2 separate regions of the Homo sapiens genome follow, and region 1 is linked to region 2. Evidence: promoter capture Hi-C in human tissues and cell types (Jung and others, 2019). All regions are on one chromosome and are shown on one strand. Each heading gives the region's core, a stretch centred on a gene start or on the middle of the fragment in contact. The rest is flanking DNA. Distances are from core to core; before and after follow the strand shown.

The links. The method cuts DNA at HindIII sites, captures the fragments that hold promoters and counts their contacts. A contact is called where the count stands out against the background at its distance.
Region 1: a contact is called between a fragment that was not itself captured here and the fragment with the promoter of CHRNA5 in region 2, in 4 of the 25 tissues and cell types used here (heart right ventricle, lymphoblastoid cells, mesenchymal stem cells and 1 more).

Annotation. Positions count from the first base shown.
Region 1 is chr15:78,452,572-78,458,337 of GRCh38, reverse strand. The region is part of intron 2 of IREB2 (iron responsive element binding protein 2); the gene reads right to left. Among named protein-coding and RNA genes, the nearest start is that of IREB2, 17 kb to the right of the region's middle. The HindIII fragment of the contact is 7,438 bases long and covers 268-5,766 here.
Region 2 is chr15:78,563,757-78,570,388 of GRCh38, reverse strand. CHRNA5 (cholinergic receptor nicotinic alpha 5 subunit) reads right to left here and starts at 4,869. Exons shown (of 6, transcript NM_000745.4): 1 at 4,564-4,869. The coding sequence starts at 4,669. RefSeq lists a silencer at 4,582-4,671 and an enhancer at 5,482-5,671. The HindIII fragment of the contact is 8,456 bases long and covers 1-6,632 here.

The sequences.
Region 1 (5,766 bases), core at 2,737-5,236, 110 kb after region 2:
TATTTATTACAATTGATGAACCTGTATCAGCATATCACAATCACCCCAACCCCACAGTTTACATTAGGGTTCACTCTTAGTGTTGTGTATTTCCCTACTTTCATGTTTGAAATTTTTCACACACAAAGACCCATAAAGTTGTACGTAAAGTAGAAAAAGGATTACAGTTATCAGAAATACTAGATTCAAAGCCTGTATTTACTACAGGTATGGCCTTTGGAAAGTGACTAAGTTGATACATTTTCTCACTAAAATGGGACTGTCAGCTACCTAACAGAGATGTGAAGAATATCTTCCTTACCTCGTCTATCTAGTTGGTACATGTAAAGCTCTCAAATTACAATAAATAGTTGGCACTTAACCAATATTAGTTTCCATCCTTACTTCAATCAGAAACATAAAAATTCCCCAAACCAAGGGGAATTACAGGGGAAAAATTTTTTAATAGAACATTTGGAGATAATGAGAAGGAAAATATTATCACAGAAATTATATACAAGATTAACCTTTTATTTAGATAATTATTATGGAAAAACAATCTCAGGAATATTTTTTGTTTATAAAAGTTATAAACCCACTAGAAAAAAAGTGACAGGGTGAGGCAAAGCCAAAAAAATTTTGAAAAACAAAGTATTACTAGATGGATGACTGGTAATGGACTGAGCAGAACAGAGGAGAGACAGCTGAAACTTAAAATGTCTACATGGGGGAAAGGCAAGCAGAAACAAAGTTTAGGAAATCAGGATTGCCTGAGATTTCTTATGAGGAGTGTTAAAAGCTAGCAGACAATGGAAAAATGCCTTCAAAATTCCAAATGAAAATAATTTCCAACCAAGAAATTTACACACAGGAAAACTATCAATTAATCAAGCAAGGTCTCAAAAATGTATTTCTCAGGCATCCTTTCTTAGGAATCTAGTAGAGGACATGCTCTATAAAATCAGAGAGTAAACAAAAAACAGAAAACCACTAAATCTTGGAGAGTCTCCAAAACAAAGAGAGAGCAGACTCTTCTACAACAACGGCTGTGCAAGCTACAATGCAGTCAGTCCCAGATGGACCAGAAGATGAAGTCCAGATAGCATGTCATCAACAGAAGAAAAAAAAATAACCAATAGATTACATGATTATACCAGGAGGAGGAATTTAGTTCTTTTGGAGAGTTCAGAGATGATTTATTCATAAGGACATAGAGTACTAAGCAAACAAAAAAAGGCAATCCATTAATCCCAGGAAAAATACAAAGTTATATGAGAGATGAGATACAATCATCATTACTACAAGGATTGGCTAAGAACATTTATAGTCATAACATAAATGCTCAACATTGATTCCACCAAAAATTATGAGTTGCATAAATATACAGAAGAAGTGCCAAATTACCATTTTCACAGTATAAAACTACTAAAGTCTAAAATCGGAAAATCAAGAAAGAGTAGTATAAGAAGGGCAATTTAACAACATGGAGGAAATTACCTGAAGAAACAGTCAAGAGAATTGAAAATAGTATTCTCTGGGGAGTAGAAATTGGGGACAGGGCAAAAGGCTACTGTTTTAGTTATAATTTAACAAGTAGGGTATTAAAAAATTCTTATTTAAAAATTAAAAAGCAATTATCAAATAAGAGTGCTACGAGAAAACACTAATCACAAATGTATTTTTTTTTTTTTTTGAGATAAGGACTTGCTCTGTCACCCAAGCTAGAGTGCAGTGGCACGATCATGGCTCACTACACCCTTGACCTCCTGGGCTCGGGCAATCCTCCCACCTCAGCCTCCAGAGTAGCTGAGCTACAGGCGTATACCACTATGCCCAGCTGATTCTCGTAATTTTTTTTTGTAGCAATAGGGTTTCGCCATGTTGCCCAGGGAGTTCTCGAACTCCTGGGCTCAAGCAATCCTCCCACCTTGGCCTCCCAAAGTACTGGGATTACAGGCATAAGCCAGCCACCACACCTGGTCCCACAAATGTTAACTCAACATTTTGTCATGAAGAAGCACCAACTATCTCAAATTTGTCTAAATTTGTAAAAGTAATGACTAGAGACCTACTGCCAGGGAAGATGCAAATGAATAAAAATACCACTGTCTCTCAAAACAAAAACAAAATTTCTTATTTCTCCCTGTGGTAGCCAATCTCCAAGATGATACCAATAATACTTGCCTTCTGATAGTCATGCTCTCATATAATCTGTATTGAAATCAGTTCTGCTTGTCTGACTCTATTTAGAGTATGGCAGAGATGACAGTGTGAGCCTTCCAAAGCTAGGCTATAAAAGTCTTTTGGCTTCAACCTTCCTCTCTTAGATTACTCGGTGAAAAGCCAGCAGCCTATTATGAGACTATTGAGCAGCACTGAGGAGAGGCCCTTATGGAAAAGAACTGAAGCCTCTCCATCATCAGGGAGCGCCAGCCTGTCAGCCATGTGAGTGAGGCCTTGGGCCAGGACTATCGACTAAGCCACTGCAAATTCCTGACCTACAGAAACTGTGACTGTCATAAATCTTTACTGTTGCTTTTGGTTTGTTATGCAGTAATAGATAACAAATATCTTTTCTTCCTCAACTTTTCCAACAATATCATCTGCAGTTGTTTATTTAGGACTAAGGGGCAGATGCAGAGGTGCTTTATATAAATTATTCCATTTAACCCTTAAATTAAACCTACAGGTAGATATTCCAGTAGAAGAGTTACAACAATAGAGAGTAAATTAGCAGATGTGAAAAATGGACATATGCTCTGGTTTTTTTCTTTTTTTCTTTTTTTTTTCAATAGAGATGGGATTTTCCTATGTTGCCCAGGATGGTCTCCCAACTTCTGGCCTCGAGCAATCCTCCAGCCTTGGCCTTCCAAAGTGCTGGGATTAAAGGCAGGAGACACTATGTCCAGCCTTGGTTTGCTTTTTCAACAATATTAATTCTACGTCCCCACTTTCAAACAGGTATAAAGTTCAGGAAGGCCCATTTATTTCCTTTCTTCCTCCCTACTCTCCCCATCTCACCTCTACATACGCTCTTGTGCTCCAACTATACCATCTTGCAAGCTTCCTAAACTTCAGAACCTCTCTGATCCCCACTCTTACCACATCTGTTCTTCAATACTGTGGGGACTTTCTCCTTACTCGTTGGCACCAGCCTATCCACGCTTTCCTTACTTAGGCAGTTAGGGTCAATGTGGTTCAATCTCTCACTTCCCCAAACCCTACATTTATTTCCTCTTTGTTCTTTTACCCCATTTGCCCAAGAAAACACCAATCCTGTTCTTTTTTCACCCCGTCCCCGCAGCTGGTCCACTCCACATCACCTCCCTGCTTAAGAACTATTCTCTCTTTTTTAAAACTAACTTTACTGGCTGGGCACAGTGGCTCATGCCTGTAATCCCAGCACTTTGAGAGGCCAAGGTAAGAGGATCACTTGACCCTAGGAATTCGGACAACCTGGGCAACATAACAAGATCATCTCTACAAGAAAATAAAAAATTCATCAGGCACAGTGGTGTGCACCTGTGATCCTAACTACTAACGAGGCTGAAGCGGGAGGCTCCCTTGAGCCCAGGAGGTCAAGGCTGCAGTGAGCCGTGATCATGCCACTGCACTCCAGCCTGGGCGACAGAGTAAGACCCTGTCTCTAAATAAATAATAAAACAAGTCCTAAGTTTATTAAGGCATATTGTATATATCTTATAATTCATCCTTTCCAAGTGTATGATTTAGCGATTTTTGTAACGTAAGTTTACCAAGTTGTACAATCAACATCATAAATCAGTTTTAGAACATTTTCATCATCCCAACAGATCTCTCATGCCTATTTACTGTTAATCCCTCTCCCCCTCCTCTCTAACCCAAGAAACCACCAATCTACTCTATGCCTTTCCTGGGCATTTCATATGAATGAAATCATAAAATAAAGTTTCTTATGCCTGTATTTTTTTCACTAAGCCTGCTTTTTACAGTTCATCCACATTGTAGCAAGTATCTGTAGTCAATTTCTTTTTACTGCCAAATAGTATTCCATTGTATACCAAAGTTTTGCCTATTCATTCACCCACTGCAGGACATTTAAGTTGGTTTCAATTTTCGGCTATGAATAATGCTGCTAAGATCATTTGAAAATCTTTGTGTAATAAATGTTTTCATTTTTCTTGGATAGATACTTAGGAATGATATTGCTGGGCTACGTGGTAAATTTATGTTTAACTTTTTAACAAACTGCCAAATTGTTTCCCAAAGTGGCTGCACTATTTTACATTCCCACTAGCAGTGTATGAGGTTTCCCATTTCTCCATATCCTCCCCAACATTTGTCACTGTCTGTCTTTTATACAGTACCCATTCTAACAGGTATGAATGGTAATTTGTTGTGGTTTTAAGTTTTATGTTGAGGAGGAAGAATGAGGAAAAAATTCCTAAAACATCAACGCAGAGAAACTGGCACTAATGTAAACACATGATTATAACCTCAATCAGGTCCTCACTATTCGAAATCCTAATGTTTCTCTGATCTGCTTATTTTCCCACACTCCACATCAATTAATTCTTATCTTCATCCACTCTCCTTAAAATTTAATCTCTATTTATCTTCTAGAGGACCTAGCCCCGTTTCCTACCTCACTGATAAATAGAAACTAACAGTTCCTACCTCTCAACTTCCTCCTACTATACCCACAAGCCTTGCTGCCTCTGGATTCACCCTTTCACCAGTTAAGGGAGCTGCGGACTTCCTCCTACTAAATGATAACTTCTCTATAGGAGTTTTGCATCCTATTTCCATTAACCATTTTAGGACTCAAGAGTCATCAATCATTTCCTCTCTCCTTTTTTTGCAAACTGGTTTGCAATTCAACTGGTTTCTTCCCATCAACATTTAAACAGCTCCTAGCCCCAGTTGACAACAAAAGTACTGCTTCCTTCAAATTCTCTAAAAGTGCCCACTTTTCTACCTTCCACTCACCTTAGCCCTAATCAATATTATTTCTGTCCTTAAACACGAATGAAGCAGGTCTAGCTAGAATCCCAACAGCCTTGTAGCAATATTCAAAAGAGCTAATAATTACCTCCTTTTTGAAACACTCTTTCTACTGGATTCCACAGCACCATCCTCCAGTTTTCCTTCTAACATATTGTTGGAAGACAATTTTCCATGTCTCCCATCTCACATTTCTTCAAGACTTGTGAACAGAGGTAATGACTACCTTTGTTCCAGACTATTTTTTCAGATATGTCTATATAGTGAATAGTTTTCAAATACACGATAGCGTCTTGCTCTGGAGCAAAGAGCAGGCATGCTTACTACCCATTATAAAAGACTTGGGTTTCCTAAGCCACAGTTCCTTTTCTGTAAGTAACACAACACCTGTGTGTGCAGGTGTTACCTGGCCTTCTTCAACATTACCCTATAGAAACTAGAGCTTGGGAAACCAACATAAATACTGTTAATAAGGATAATGCTTTGCTGTGAGTAATAAACTGTCCATTGTCTCTGATCCAGGAGTTGGGTGCCTCCTGCCAACATACATGAAACTACGTCAGGCTAATTTGTTAACTTCCAAGGAAGGTAAAATTTTAGATCCTTTATAGTTCTTTTTCATTTTTTTAAAATTGAAATGGGGGTCTCACTATGTTGCCCAGGCTGGTCTCGAACTCCTGGGCTCAAGAGATCCTCCCGCCTCAGCCTCCCAAAGTGCTGAGATTACAGGTGTGGGTCACCATGCCAAGCCTCCTTTATAGTTCTTAACACTTCTAGGTAGGCCTATCTTCCTTGTTAACCTCT
Region 2 (6,632 bases), core at 3,620-6,119:
TACTTGGGAGGCTGAGGCACGAGAATCATTTGGACCCAGGAGCCAGAGGTGTCAGTGAGCCAAGATCACGCCACTGCACTCCAGCCTAGGTGACAGAGCAAGACTCTGCCTCAATAAAAATAATAAATAAATAAACAGTAGGACAAACAATATCATGTTTCCTCAAAGGAGAACAAAACATCTAAATTAACATTTTTCATCATAGAACAGAAAAGGATGATTTTAAATAATCCTTTCTATCATATTGTCATTATAAAACTATACCCAGGCCAGGCGCGGTGGCTCACGCCTGTAATCCCAACACTTTGGGAGGCCGAGGCAGGCGGATCACCTGAGGTCAGGAGTTTTCAAGACCAGCCTGGCCAAAATGGAGAAACCCCATCTCTACTAAAAATACAAAAATTAGCCAGGCATGGTGGCACATGCCTGTAATCCCAGCTACTTGGGAGGCTGAGGCAGGAGAATCACTTGAACCCAGAGGCAGAGGCTGCAGTGAGACAAGATCATGCCACTGCACTCCAGCCTGGGCGACAGAGTGAGACTCTGTCTCAAGAAAAAAAACAAAAACAAAAACAAAAAAAACACTATACCCATGCTGTTCTGTGGAACAGATGTTTAAAGAAACAAATTCTAAACTTCTTTCAAAAACAATTCCAGGCCGGGCACGGTGGCTCACACCTGTAATCCCAGCACTTTGGGACGCCGAGGCGGGCGGGTCATGAGGTCAGGAGATCGAGACCATCCTGGCTAACATGGTGAAACCCCGTCTCTACTAAAAATACAAAAAATTAGCCAGGCGTGGTGGCGGGTGCCTGTAGTCCCAGCTACTTGGGAGGCTGAGGCAGGAGAACGGCGTGAACCCGGGAGGCAGAGCTTGCAGTGAGCCGAGATTGCACCACTGCACTCCAACCTGGGCAACAGTGCAAGACTCCGTCTCAAAAAAAAAAAAAAAAAAATTCCAATATTTAACAACTCTAATTGTCGACATGCTTATTTAATAGTGAACTTAAACTATCATCTGATAATTTAATTCCAATGCTTTAAGAAAAATAATGCTATTAGAAGAAAAAGTTCTGTACTGAAATTACTGAACTAAAACTTCATATCCTAATTATAAAAAATTACTTGCTAGATCTCATTTGTAGATTATAGGTTGAAAAAAAGCTCAGAGTTCAATCCATAGGCTACATTAATAAATGCAGGTATATCTGCAGTGTATCAGGAAATACACAGACAAATGAAATCCTACCCTCCAGCTGCTCAGTCTAGTTCACATATTTAGTATTTCTTGGAAATCAAAATAATTTTAAATTGCAAATTAAATTGTGTATAAAGTTTACGTAAGGACATATATATAACAAAAGTAAAACTGACAGTCAGTATGTGTGTATTTCTGTTAGCTTCTGAAAATGTTAATGAAAATGACTAAAGATGAGAAGAAAAAAATCTTTCATAGCTCTCATTTTCTATGAATTATTTCATTTTCCTATTTCATTTTCAGCCACTACATATAGTAATTAAAATTAAGGTTCAGCCATTTAAAATGTCACATAGCGTGCAGCCATAAAAAAGAATGAGTTCATGTCCTTTGCAGGGACATGGATGAAGCTGGAAACCATCATGCTCAGCAAACTAACACAGGAACAGACACCAAACACCGCATGTTCTCTTTCATAAGTGGGAGTTGAACAATGAGAATCCATGGACACAGGGAGGGGAACATCACACATCAGGGTCTGTCGGGAGGTTGGGGGCAAGGGGAGGGAGAGCATTAGGACAAATACCTAATGCATGTGGGGCTTAAAACCTAGATGACAGGTTGATAGGTGTAGCAAACCACCATGGCACATGTATACCTATGTAACAAACCTGCAGGTTCTGCACATGTATCCCAGAACTTAAAGTAATATTTTAAAAAAAAAATTAAAAAAATAAAATGTCACACAGCTAAGAAATATAACCATTGGCTTTAAAATGTCACATAGCTAAGAAATAGTAAGAAATATAACTAGTTAGGTAGTTAATGACTATCTAACTTCCATAATCACTGTCCCAATCACAGGTCAGTTTAAAATGCTTGTATTATCTTGATGTACTAGTTCATTATACTTTAATATATTATACTTTAATTGTCTCCTGAGCCACTTTCCACAGCTCTGTGACCGTTCATCAGCCAAATAATAGCTGCGGGCTGACTAGATATTCTCTTTACCTGGGAACTGGCTCACAGAAAACCACAGGGAAAAGTTACTATTAAGAACCTAAGACGAATATGAAAACAATAAATTGTAAAAATAAAGGTAATTATATTTGAACTTAAAAAACTTAAAGTTGACTTAAAAACATCTACTACCGCCCTTTCATTTTAAAGAGAGAGAAACAAAGAATCAGCAAGGTCAAGTAATACGTCCAAGGAAACACAGACAGCGAGTGGCAGGTCTCCTATTTCCAGACAGTACTTTCAGCCACCCACATGGAACGACAGTTGTACACAAATGCATATTAACAGTTAAGAGCAAGTGTGCAATTACATCATCCATTCAGTATCACTTTGTTCTTCAAGATGATCACTTCTAAGAGCACACAGAATCTTATAATTTTCAAGGTGGAAGGGGGATCCTTTAATGGCCCCTCACCATCCAGATGGAGAAACTAATATCCAGAGAGGTAATACTGTTCCACTCCTTCCTTCCGCAAACCTTCACTGGGCTCCTACATTAAGGCAGGTGTTGGCGATACAAAGATAAACAAGAATCACAGTTCTTAAGGAGCTTACGTGGAAGCAGGAGGAAACAGAAGTGCAATAGAACCAGATGGTTATTATGAGAGAGATATTAACTAAGTGGGGCAGAAAGCAGGAACTAATCGATTTCACTTTGTTATAACACTGAACACCATGCATGAAGGGAGATAGCTATTTACACTATTTAATGCTTGGCTACAGTGTTCTATATTAAAAGACATGAAACAGATTTTTAAAGTTCAGTTTCATCAAAAGGGGTAGAGAACTACCATTTTCTCGAGTGTCAGGCACTGTGCCTGGCATTTTATATGCATTATTTAATCCTCAAAAGAACTCTGAGAGGTAAGCATGATTATTACCCCCATTTCTTTTCTTTTCTTTTTTTTTTTTTTTGAGACGGAGTCTCGCTGTGTTGCCCAGGCTGGAGTGCAGTGGCGCGATCTCGGCTCACTGTAACCTCCGCCTCTCGGGTTCACGTCATTCTCCTGCCTCAGCCTCCCGAGTAGCTGGGACTACAGGCGCGCACCACCACGCCCGGCTAATTTTTTTGTATTTTTAGTAGAGACGGGGTTTCACTGTGTTAGCCAGGATGGTCTCGATCTCCTGACCTCGTGATCTGCCCGCCTCGGCCTCCCAAAGTGCTGGGATTACAGGCGTGAGCCACCGCGCCCGGCCCGCCATTTCTTAAAGAAGGAAAACAGCTGAGAGAAGTTCGTCCAGTCAGGATGCACCAGAGCCATAATTTGAATACAGGTTTGCCTGGCTCCAAAATCACATTCCTTTCTTTCTGTTTAACTCTCTCTGCCCAGGATTTTCTTCATTTGTTTAAATCACCCTCCATCTTATTTCTCTTCGGTCTACACTAAGCAATACATCCTGCAATGAATTATTCTAGTCTTATTACTTCCTAAAATCAGGAGCCATAGATTAAAAACCTTAACAAAGGAAAGGCAAGAAAAGGTTCTTGCAATATTTCCACTATTTAAGAAACTCACTCATAAAACCTGAAATACAGACGTAGTGAACTTCTGTAATCATATCTTGCTTAACGGATGCTTAGCTTTTCTACGTTTAGATCACACCATAGCTGCTCCACAAACGTGTTTTTCTTCAAGGTATTGAGAGAACTGACTCTAAAACTTTCCCAAGCACTTGAAACATGTAGGACTACGCGATTTCTTTTGTTGTTTCCATTCCTGTCCAAAACCTCTTGAAAAACAGCAGGCTGAAAAAAGCTGTGCTCTAAGGAGCTAGTGAGGAACTCTGGATGCAAACGATTAGCCCCGAAGCCAGGGAAGTTGGCCGCCTAGCCTGCTACAACACACACCTTTCATCTCCGGCGAAAGGAAAGGTTTTCAAATGCTGCGGTGGGTAGGGGACAGGGATGGAGGAAGAGGCGGCGGGCAGGAGGTGGAAGATAAGTCCCAACCCCTAGAATGAACCCCAGAGTCTCTATATCCCGTAAATGGGCAACAAAATGGGAAGCTTGGCTGCCACCAGGACAGGAAAGCCCTGCTGGACAAGAGTGGCATCTTTTACTGAAAAAGTTGTGTGGAAGTATACGCTAAGCCAGCCTCGTAGTCTCCAGCGATGCAGGTCGTGGAACAACAAAGAAAACCCACCCAAGTAGCCCTTTCTCTGCATTTAAATGAGCAAATCTGGACATTTAAACTGAAACCTCACTCCAAGCCCCCAGGAGAAAAAAACCCACCTCCCCTCGCAACCAGGTTTTCCGGCGGCCGTCGCCTGGCGGCTTCCTGGGCACCGCGATGTGGAGTCCGGGCCAGCTCCCGCCCCGCCCCTCTGCAGCCCGGGCTTACCTCTCTGCGCGCCGCCCGCCGCGCCCGCTAGACCGCAGCGCCCCGCGACCAGCTGGACCAAGAGCAGCAGGCGGAGCGCGCGGGGCCCTGACCCCCGCGCCGCCATCGCCCCGCGCCCGCGCGGGACCGCGGGCAGCCGCCTCTCGACCGCCGCGCGGGGAACGCGAACTCTTGGGGAATGGAGCACTGAGTGTGAGTCGTGAGACAAAACGAGGGCAGACGCAGCAGAGGGGCCGCTCCGCGCCACAGCTCCCGCCGGGACAGCAGCCTCAGCCTAGCAGCTTCTGGCGGGCTCGGGACGCATGTGGAAGCTCCCGGCGCCTAGCCCCGCCCCTATTTCCCTCTGGCCCCGCCCAATCCTCGCCTTGTTCCTTTTGGCCCAGTCCGGTCTATTCATAGCCCCGCCTCCGATCCCCACCAACCCTTTCCCCACCCCGCCCCGCCTCTGGTCCAACCCTGTCTGCTCCTAGCTCCTCTTTTTCCACGCCTGGCCCAGCCCCATCGCCCTGGCCCCCGCCTCCAGGCCTTCCTTTGGGCAGGTGCGACCCTGGAGCAGAGTTCCAGGAAGGCAAAGACTTGAGGCTGGCATCGCAGGCGCGTCCTTCTCTAACCACCGGATGTCCTTGGCCTAGTCACTGCACACCTTAAGATAACAGCTATTCATTGATGTCTGCTCTGTGCTCAGCACCAAAAGGGGAAGCAGAGGGACAGATTGCTCCCAGCTGATAGAAAATGTAAATAAAGTAATTCCGAGTTGTGATCAGAAAGAAACAAGCTGGAGGCTGGGGCAGAATCACAGTGGTGGGGGACTTGCTCCAGGCTGCAGCGCTCTCCATGGGCCCCGCTGCCCACTCAAGTCTTTCTCACCAGGAAGTACCAGTCGCAGCTTGACTGCCTCCTGGGGCTGTCGTGTCAGCCAAGGGGTCCCCACCAGGAGACCTGTGTTGTGGACCAGCGAGACAACCCTGGGCAAGTCACTTTCCTCTCTGGGCCTGTTTCCTCGTCTGGAAGCGAGGAACCGAGGCAGATAAACTAGAGGACTCGGGAAGGTACAGCTCTGACACTCACTCAAGCCATCCCCGGAAATGATATGCAGTCGCCTCAAACGTGGGCATCGCCCTCCGTGTTGTCATCAATTAACATTTGTAAATATTAGTGACTATCTGCTACAGACACTTAGCACCTCTGGTGGAGATTGGTGCCGACTGCTGGAAACCCGTCTCAAATCCCTCCAGACCCTATATTTCATCCTCTCTGTCCATAATTAGAAAGCTTCATTTGGCTGAAGGGATTCAGGCGAATTATCTTTAAACTTCAGTGGCAGAGGGAGCCGCTGACTCTTCACAGAACGCTTTATGGAGGTGACACCTCTAAGACTCATTGTGAGCAAAAATTTCACTCCACCCTCCAGACTAGTAAATCTGTGAAAAACTAAACCTGGTTGCAAAGAATCTAAACAGCAAAATTCAGTGAAGATGCTCTTCTTAGGTCCAAATACAGCTGGAAAAATGTAAATTACATCCAATGGAGCCAATCTGTTTAAACAGGACTTAAACAAAGGGGCCACAGAAAAGGGATGCACAAGATGTTAACCAGATTAGTAATTAATTGCACTTCTGCACAGAAATGAAAGACAGTACCTATCATCCTTTCACTGCAAATTTACATTTTACTCTGAAGAATTTATGGGACTTACAGGCACTTATGCAATTCATCCTAACAGTGTTTGGATGACTTTAAAATGTTATTCTGCTTTTACAGCTAACTGATTTGAAACAGAGGAGTTGAATAACTGCTGAAGGTCACAGTACCTGTCAGTGGCAAAACTAGAATGAAATGGTTGTCAGTGCAGCCACTGCAAGTATAATTGGAACTCCTAGATGTTATATCAATAATCATGAGAATGATGGTTATTTACATAATCTATGAAAAACACTATTAATTGTTGCTATTAAGTGAAAGGCAAAGCGTGACATTTGTTGGGCATTTTAAAATCCAAACAAATAATCAGAATATAATGTCTACATCTTACATGGTTTTTCCAGGGGGATACGCCAATTACTCATGGT